3 separate regions of the Homo sapiens genome follow, and all the other regions are linked to region 1. The links are contacts of gene promoters, found by promoter capture Hi-C in blood cells and fetal thymus (Javierre and others, 2016). All regions are on one chromosome and are shown on one strand. Each heading gives the region's core, a stretch centred on a gene start or on the middle of the fragment in contact. The rest is flanking DNA. Distances are from core to core; before and after follow the strand shown. Region 1 holds the start of CD244 (CD244 molecule). Region 2 holds the start of LOC105371467 (a long non-coding RNA gene). Region 3 holds the start of CD84-AS1 (CD84 antisense RNA 1).

Evidence for each region. The method cuts DNA at HindIII sites, captures the fragments that hold promoters and counts their contacts. A CHiCAGO score of 5 or more calls a contact.
Region 2: a contact is called between a fragment that was not itself captured here and the fragment with the promoter of CD244 in region 1, in 1 of 17 cell types (fetal thymus). The highest score is 6.3, in fetal thymus.
Region 3: a contact is called between the fragment with the promoter of CD84-AS1 here and the fragment with the promoter of CD244 in region 1, in 11 of 17 cell types (erythroblasts, total CD8 T cells, fetal thymus and 8 more). The highest score is 9.7, in erythroblasts.

The regions. Positions count from the first base shown.
Region 1 is chr1:160,861,445-160,864,316 of GRCh38, reverse strand. It overlaps CD244 (CD244 molecule), which reads left to right and starts at 1,430. Exons shown (of 9, transcript NM_016382.4): 1 at 1,430-1,700. The coding sequence starts at 1,640. RefSeq lists an enhancer at 1,565-1,614. The HindIII fragment of the contact is 2,100 bases long and covers 1,403-2,872 here.
Region 2 is chr1:160,436,843-160,439,714 of GRCh38, reverse strand. It overlaps LOC105371467 (a long non-coding RNA gene), which reads left to right and starts at 1,538. Exons shown (of 3, transcript XR_922202.3): 1 at 1,538-1,633; 2 at 2,425-2,757. The HindIII fragment of the contact is 2,708 bases long and covers 1-2,700 here.
Region 3 is chr1:160,535,733-160,538,604 of GRCh38, reverse strand. It overlaps CD84-AS1 (CD84 antisense RNA 1), which reads right to left and starts at 1,509. Exons shown (of 2, transcript NR_188634.1): 1 at 1,418-1,509. The HindIII fragment of the contact is 1,945 bases long and covers 448-2,392 here.

The sequences.
Region 1 (2,872 bases), core at 181-2,680:
GAAAAAGCTATTCAGAGCTTAAAAAAATGAAAACAAAACCACAAAAACCTCATCTATGTCCAGTGTTTTTTGTGTGCATATTCTGGAGTATCATTTTTAATTTGATCCTGAAAACTGCCTTGTGAAGGTGGGGAGGATGTATTGTTGACCCTACAGGCTCAGACAGCAACAAGGCCAGAATCACATAGGTTGTAAGTTGCTGAATGGGAGCTGCAAGTCCAAGTCTTTGACTCTAAATCCAGCGCTCTGTCCAGAGCCCCGCTGCTGCCTCTGTTGGCAGCTGAAGCTGTCAGTCTGCTGCCCCCTGCCCAGTTCAGACAGGGTGGCTGGAAATGGACCAAAGGATGGAAAAAGAGAATAAGAGCGGACTTGAAGGGAACTGAAAGTATTTGTTAAGGGGAAAGCAGAAGGAAGAAAGAAAGAGGCATGAACCCTGGGGCCTGGCCTTGAAGCACAGTGTTCCAGGGGAGGGGGGATGCCGCTGTCCCCACCCCTCCATGGGGGCCTAAGCAGATCCAGAGCTGCCTGGCCTTCCTGGAGGGTGGCGTCCAAGCATGGATGGGAAGGCAGCAAAAATAGGCCCATGTCACTTCTGGGAGAAGACAAAAGAGGGAAGAGAGGACTACTATAGAAAAGTAGAAAAAGAGGAAGGGAGGGAATCTAGGCATACAGATCGGAAATGTGGAGCAAAACAAAATTTTTTTTTTTTTTTTTGAGACACAGTGTCGCTCTGTCACCTAGGCTGGAGTGCAGTGGCGTGATCTTGGCTTACCGCAACCTCCACCTCCTTTGCTCAAGTGATTCCCCTGCCTCAGCCTCCCAAGTAGCTTGGATTACAGGTGCACGCCACCCAGCCTGGCTAATTTCTCTATTTTTAGTAGAGGTGGGGATTCACCATATTGGCCAGGCTAGTCTCGATCTCCTGATCTCAAGTGATCTGCCTGCTTCAGTCTCCCAAAGTGTTGGGATTACAGGCGTGAGCCACTGTGCCCCGTGTGAAACAAATTCTTATGAAACAAATTTAATTTACATGTGCTTAAACTTTGGTGTCAACTTGCATGGAATCCCCAGGCTTGCTAGATTTTTCTAGTGCCTCCAGCCCTTAGGTCTCTTCCTATGTTCTCTCAGCTACTCCTCCTTTCCTTCAACACTGTTAGCCGCTTATCCAGGGCCCTACGTTTCAGCCCACTCCTCCTCCAGCCCCTCTCCACTCCACCTCCACAATGTCTGTTGGAATGGAACAGTTGGGGATACTGGCTGTTTGGCCCCCATGGGGGTCTCTCCATATAGGATTCAGAGAATTGGAAGACTTCTTGGGCTGAAGCAGAGAACGGGATGCAATTTTGAAACTGGCTTTGTGAGTCACTGTGAACTTCAAGCACCCTCCCACTTGAGGTAAGCTTCACCAGTTTGGCTTGTGGGAACTGTCAGACCAGCTCCAGGCGCTGGGGCTTTCTCAGTGGCCTTGTCAGCTCACAGCAGGCGTTAACAGCCTCTAATTGAGGAAACTGTGGCTGGACAGGTTGCAAGGCAGTTCTGCTCCCCATCGTCCTCTTGCTGACTGGGGACTGCTGAGCCCGTGCACGGCAGAGAGTCTGGTGGGGTGGAGGGGCTGGCCTGGCCCCTCTGTCCTGTGGAAATGCTGGGGCAAGTGGTCACCCTCATACTCCTCCTGCTCCTCAAGGTGTATCAGGGCAAAGGTAAGGAGGTCCTACCTGGCGTGGGGCGAGGGAGGGACTAGGAGCTGTGCCCCTCAGGGAGATCAGAGCCAGAGCCTCTGCTTGTGCCACATACACAGTCATCTGGAACTTGACTCCGAGCAGCTCCTGACAGCTCTGACAGTCTAAATCAGACAGGACAGGCTGGCAGTGCACTGGGAGGTCTGTGAGAGGGGTATCTGGCCCTGCCACCAGCAATCCAGGAAGTCTTGGGTGAGGAGATTCCTTCCCACTGGCTTCAATTTACCCTTCCGTGTAGTGGAGAGAGAAGCCTCCTTCCAGCCGCCTGTAAAGATGATGAAAATTGCATCCTCCAATTGTGGCATGAGAGAAGAGAAGCAGTCCCAAGGAAGTGGGTGGTTCTCGAGCTCAGAGACAGATGGATGGACCCCTGAGGCAGGAAAGCTGAGCCCAGGGAGGGGAGGGCGAGGCCAGCAGCCAGGAAGAAGCTGGAAGGCATGGTCCCTCATCTCCCCGGCTTCTTCAGCCATCCAGATGCCACAGGAGCCTGGAAATTATTAGGGACATGCAGGGTTGGGGCAGAAGAAGGAGACAATATGAGGAAGCTCCACAGCAAACCTAAAGCTGTCAGCCAGGCATGGAGCCATCTAACATTTACTCCTGGGGATCCCAGCTGAGGGCTGCTCCCCTCTTTCTCCAGTTCTGGGGTCCAGGATGCTCTGAAACCTGGATCCCGCATTTAATTTAATTGAATTAATTTATTTATTTCATTTTTAATTTTTATTTATTTATTTATTTTTTGAGACAGAGTCTCCTTCTGTCACCCAGGCTGGAGTGCAGTGGCGTGATCTTGGCTCACTACAAACTCTGCCTCCCGGGTTCAAGTGATTCTCATGCCTCAGCCTCCCGAGTAGGTGAAATTACAGACGTGCGCCACCATGCTTGGCTAATTTTTGTATTTTTAGTAGAGACCAGGTTTCACCATGTTGGCCAGGCTGGTCTTGAACTCCTGACCTCAGGTGATCTGCCCACCTTGGTCTCCCCCATCCAAAGTGCTGGGATTACAGGTGTGAGCCACCATGCCCAGCCAGGGTTCTGCATTTTAGATCAGTGACTCTGCAGGGGCTTCACGGAGGTGGAGAGCGTGGAATTAGAGGAGGGTACACTCTGGGCACAAAGAGGGGAAACTGAGG
Region 2 (2,872 bases), core at 97-2,596, 420 kb after region 1:
CCTTTTAAAATTGTAACTAAATTGTAAATTTAAATTTATAACTCAAATTGTAATAAATCTATCATTTTTACCTTTATACAAAGCAAAGAAATTGAGGCCTGGAGTCTCTTGCATTTCTTTGTAATCGAATTTAGATTGATTTTTTTCCTCCTTGGAAGTCTTTGATATCCCCCCAGGAGATTTGCAGTAAGCTGATGTCCACTTGTGCTGACAACCTTTCGCCATTTGAAAAGCAATTCCTAGCTTGCTTCTGAGAGCTGGTAGAAATTGAATGTCTGCCTCGGGACACCAAATTATCATGCAACGCAAACTGTCCATCATGAACTGGGTGTTTTCTGAACCACCAAATATAAAACTGAATTACCTAACAGGAATTCATTATAAAACAGAAGTGGAATATACAAAAATGGGTCTGAACAGGTCCAGAATACACAAGTATGCTGCATAAGCAGGGGACTTTGTAATTCCAGCTACTCTTCCACCTCTCCCTTGCTCTACACCGACGGCCTCATGAGGAATTCCCTATGAACAGTTAATGGAGGAAGAAAGAGCATGGGCCTGGATTTGCATGCTATGTCAGCCCCAGATGAATGAGAATGGCCTCTCCACTACAGTGAACCTCACTCAGTAGAGGCTTCAAAGTCAGTAATGAAAGAAAATCTCTCCAGCAGGCAGAACTTGAAGCAGCATATCTAGTTGTACACTTTGTTTGGAAGGAGAGATTGCCTGAGGTACATATCTACATTGAATCATGGGCAGCATGTTAACAGGTTGACCACCTTGTCAGTCACTTAAATGAAAAACAATATTGGAAAAGCAGTAAAAAGGAAGTCTGGGAAAGAACTACATAAAGTGGTCACAGTATTAAGATATTTGTGTCTCAAGTAAACGCTCTTTAAAATACTAGGGTTTCCTAATCCCAGGGTTCCTCAACCATGACATAAACTTACTGTATGCAGAGCATCCAGATTGGCTGCTCCGTATCACCCAGTGGAACTTAGAGGCAAGGAGAACTAATGCAAATATGAAGTTCATGCTACCTGCTGGGCCAAGTGTAATAAAGTCCTTTGTCTCTGACCCAGGAGTCTCATGTTTTTTGTCAGTACCCATGAAACTAACAGACAAACTTATTAGTTTAGAAGTGGCATAAAATCTCAGGCTTTTCATAGTTGTTGGAAGTTCTGGCAATGAGGACGAGATGCTGACAGAGATAGGGCTTTCGGGAAGAGGAAAGTACAATGGCCCTTTTGCAGGCCTGTTTGGAAGATCTGAGAGACTCCTGGGGATCCAGTAGTGACTGTTCTCATCCAAGTAGTGAGTGAGAGGTGGAGAATGAGGATACCCACTGTTCTACCTGTTAATGGGGCTGAGGGGTATTAGTTTGGATTGAAGCAAGCTGTCCAAATGGTATTTGTTCTTTCTCCTCTGGGCAGAAGGAGGGAGGGCTATTATTATGATGAAACAGTAAGCCCCATGGCACAAGCCAACAAGCAATAAGGCAGTGGCCACTAGTTAAGGGGTCCCCACAGCTAAAATAAATGGTGTTGGTAGTGAGGATATAGATGTTTGGGTAGACCACAAACAGAATTTGTTTACGTGAACCTGGATCACCACCAGTCACTTGAAACTGAAAGTAAGCGCAGATTGCTTACTGACACAGATCCGTACTCAAGAGCCTGGTAAAATCATTGCTCTCTGCCCCACAGACAAACATTATCTTTATCTCCCTAGGCTACTAATTTCTATAGTAAGTGTGAAATATCTCTTAGATGTCTTTGTGAAGATGTCAAATAAGCACTTAGATTTATAAGTCTAGAATTCTGGGGAGAAGTCAGGGCAAGAAATAGAGATTTGGGAGTACTTGGTATATAACTAACATTTATTGGGTACTTACTACATGCCAGGCATATCTAAGTAGTTTATGAATATTTTCTGAGTTACACTCCCAACATCCCTGTGAGGTTGGCACTGTGTTATTGTCTTCATTTTAAAGATAAAGAAACAGAAAATTTCCTCAAGGCCACATAGCTACTGGGAGCAAAACCAGAAGAAAAACCCAGGCAGGTTGACCCCAGAGCCCATGTTCATTACTACTATGCTGTGCTATCTGGTACACAGACGGTATTTAAAGCCTTGGGATGAGATGAGGATACCCATGGGTAGTATGTAGAAAAGAGAAAAGGGGACTGAAGTACTGCAACATTTAATGATGTCCTTCAGAATTTCCAATTCCTCCTGTCTGGTTCTGTATTTAATAGACAAATGCTAATTTATCAATTTGAACTGTCCCATCAGGAATATACCTGTACAAATGACCAACTCCAGTTCCCAAACTAGATCTATCAGTTGTTATAAATTGATAAATTAACATTCTTATTTATAATTGCTCTTTTATATGTATGGCTGGTTTTATTCCATTTCCAGAATGTTATTTCCCTTTGATTACTTAATGAAGACAGAATGTCTGGACCAGTAATGACCTCCTAAGATACTGACACTCTGTGAGGTACTATCTGAGGCAAACAGGACTTCTTGGACATCTCTTTGACCACAATATGGCACCATACCAGGAATCTGAGGAAGCAGAGGTTCCACATGGTTTGCTGAAAATTCAAGGGGAAAACAACATCTGAACTGAAAATGCTTAACTCAGAGCTCTCCTCAAATAGTAAATACTATTTCAGAAACGGTTGGTAAGCTTTGGCAAGACGCTGCCCTCAGAAAGAACCATGGCAGCTGAGAAATAGCAAGTACCAGGTATGGGTTCTGTGGTATAAACATGAGGGGCTCCACAAAGGTCCTCTTCTCTTTAGTGTCGAGCAATTATGTGTACATATACACAGCGTACATTAGATGTTCCAATTCTTCTCCC
Region 3 (2,872 bases), core at 260-2,759, 330 kb after region 1:
CTGGTCAACATGGTGAAACCCCGTCTCTACTAAAAGTACAAAAACAAAAAAAAAAAAAAGCCGGGTGTGGTGGCACACACCTGTAGTCCCAGCTACTTGGAAGGCTGAGGCACGAGAATTGCTTGAACCCGGGAGGCAGAGGTTGCAGTGAGCTGAGATGGTGCCACTGCACTCCAGCCTGGGCAACAGAGCAAGACTCTTTCTCAAAAGAAAGAAAAGAAAGAAAAAAAAAAGAAAAGGAAAGGAAAGAAAGAAAGAGAGAGAGAAAGTTAGTTTATAATTAGAAGAAATTCTTTAACCTGAAAAAAAATGGAAAGATATTCAGTGGTCTAATTGCCAAAAGTGTACCAGCCTAGATGGTCTTAAGGGCTAGTCCTATCACCTACAATGAAAGGATAATTCCCAGTCATCTTAACTGTCCCAAGGCATAGAAAACAGTGGGAAGCTTCCAAATTCATTAAATACTATAATATAACACTGATTCCAAAGCCAGATAAGGATGATCCCCCACAAAGAGATACATAGGCCAGGAGTTAGCAAACTATGGCGTGTGGCCACATCCAGTCTGCCATCTGTTTTTATTTGACCCACGAACTAAGAATAGTTTACATTTTTAAAATGGTTGAAAAGAATTCAAAGAATAATAATATTTTGGGACATGTTAAAATTATGTGAAATTCAAATTTCAGCATCCATAAATAAAGTTTTATTGAAACACAGCCAACACGCATTCTTTTATGTGTTTATTATGGCTGCTTCCATACTACACCAGCAGAGTTGAGTAGTTGCAAAGGAGATTGTATGGTCCACAAAGTCCAATATTCACTACTGGGACCTTTACAGAAAAAGTCTGCCACATCCTGATATAGTCCAATCTCACTTATAAATATAAATGTTAAAAATCTTAAACTTCAGTCAATTTTAAAGCAATGCATTAAAAGAAAAAAAAATGCGACCAAGTAGGATTTTATCCTTAGAGTGCCAGGATGATTTATCTTTAAGAAACCATCTATTGTAATTTGCTGTTCAAACAGATTAAAGGAGATGAAAAAAATAATCATCCTGACATAGTCTACAATATATATTTGATAAAACTGAATACCCATGACTGATTTAAAAAGTTTTCAAGAAAGCTAAAAATAGAATGTGTTTTAGTCAATATCCAATTTTAAAAAACTGAGACCATGTTAAATACTGAAAACTCAACAAGCTGAATATAGGGAATTGATTCCAAAAGTGATGGAGGAGTAAAACAGGGAAGCTGAGGTTACCAAGCAATTAATAATTCCAGGAAGTTGCTATGGAACTTTGTCCCTATGGAAATTTGTCTTGGGAATCAGTGCTGCCAGCTTTCAAGATTCTAAGAGTTCACAGTCTCATCAAAACTGTGAGACTCTGGGAGACAAAAATAACTCACCACTGCAGATGCCACCATCAAAGCCTGATCCCACCAGTACCACACTAGCAAGACTTCTGACATGCTTGCTGGAACTGCACTGCTACACCAGGAACCCTGAAGCGGTACTCATCTTCTGCTATCACTGCCACTACTGAAAACATTACCAGAAACCAAGATTATGGAAAAATATATAATTTATTCCTTCCATCCAACTTTAACCAATACCACCCAGTGACAAAATCTAATCAGAAGCCATCTGACAATGGAAATGATAAATGTAGTTTGCAGACTTCTAACCTTCTGAAAAACAAGGAACACAGAAGGGTGGGAATAGAGCTGAGAGCAAATAAGCAAATGACTGGCTCGGGTTAAACTTTTACAACTTGATACAGCATATGTAGCAAACATTTATTGGAAACATTAGAGGCATTCTTAATAAAGAAATGAATACAAGTAACCATTCTTGTATTCAGTGAATACAAGATCACTGCTACTCTTCAACTGTATTGTATTGAAGATCCTTGTTAGTAAAGTGAGTCAAGAAATACATATAAGAGGCTATCTCACATCTAGAATCAGTCATTTTTCTAAGGGGCATTGGTTCTTCAGAGAGAATATTATTTATCCACCAAGATCTTGGATAATGTCACTAATTTTTAGTTACTTAAGAAATATGTGAACACATTTCTATCATCTTTTTAAAAATCAGTGTAAAAGTATAGAGATAGAGAGAGTGATGTCAGCAAAGTGGTGGACTAGGAAATTCCAAACTCTCTCTTTCCCCCAACTTAGAGTAATAAAAAAACAGCCAAACAAACAAAAAAAAACCCAAATGGTTGAATTAACCTTATAGGGACTCTGGAAAACAGTCAGAGTTTTATAACAACCAATCAAATGCCCAATGAAGAAAAAGCCACTTTTGAAATGGTAGGAAAAGTTCCATGGCATTTTTCTTGCCCTTGCCCCATCCCCTCCTCATCCCAACAGAAAGCTTGTTTAGAGGAGGCAGGAGTTCACTTCTCAGTTCCCTCTCTTGAATGGGAGGGAACATAACAGATCTTATTTGCAATATTCTAATCTGTCTTAGGAGTCCATGAAGAACTGGTCTCTATTTCACTTAATTCAGATCTCAAGTGGGAAAGTGCCACTACTATGAACCCAAAGCTATCAAAATAAAGAAAATAATAAAGATTAGACCAGAGATAAAATAGAGAAAATTAATGAACCAAAAAGTTGATTACTTAAAAGGATCAACGAAATTGGCAAATTTAGTTAGAGTGGTTATGGAAAAAAAGACAGAGTGCTCAAATTACTAAAATTGGAAATGAAAATGAGGACACTACAACCAATTTTTCAGAAATGAATAGAAGAGACTACTACAAACAAATTGGATAACATAGATGAAGTAGACACAATTTTTACAAAGACTGAATCATGAAGAAATAGAAAATCTGATTAGACCTATAACTACTA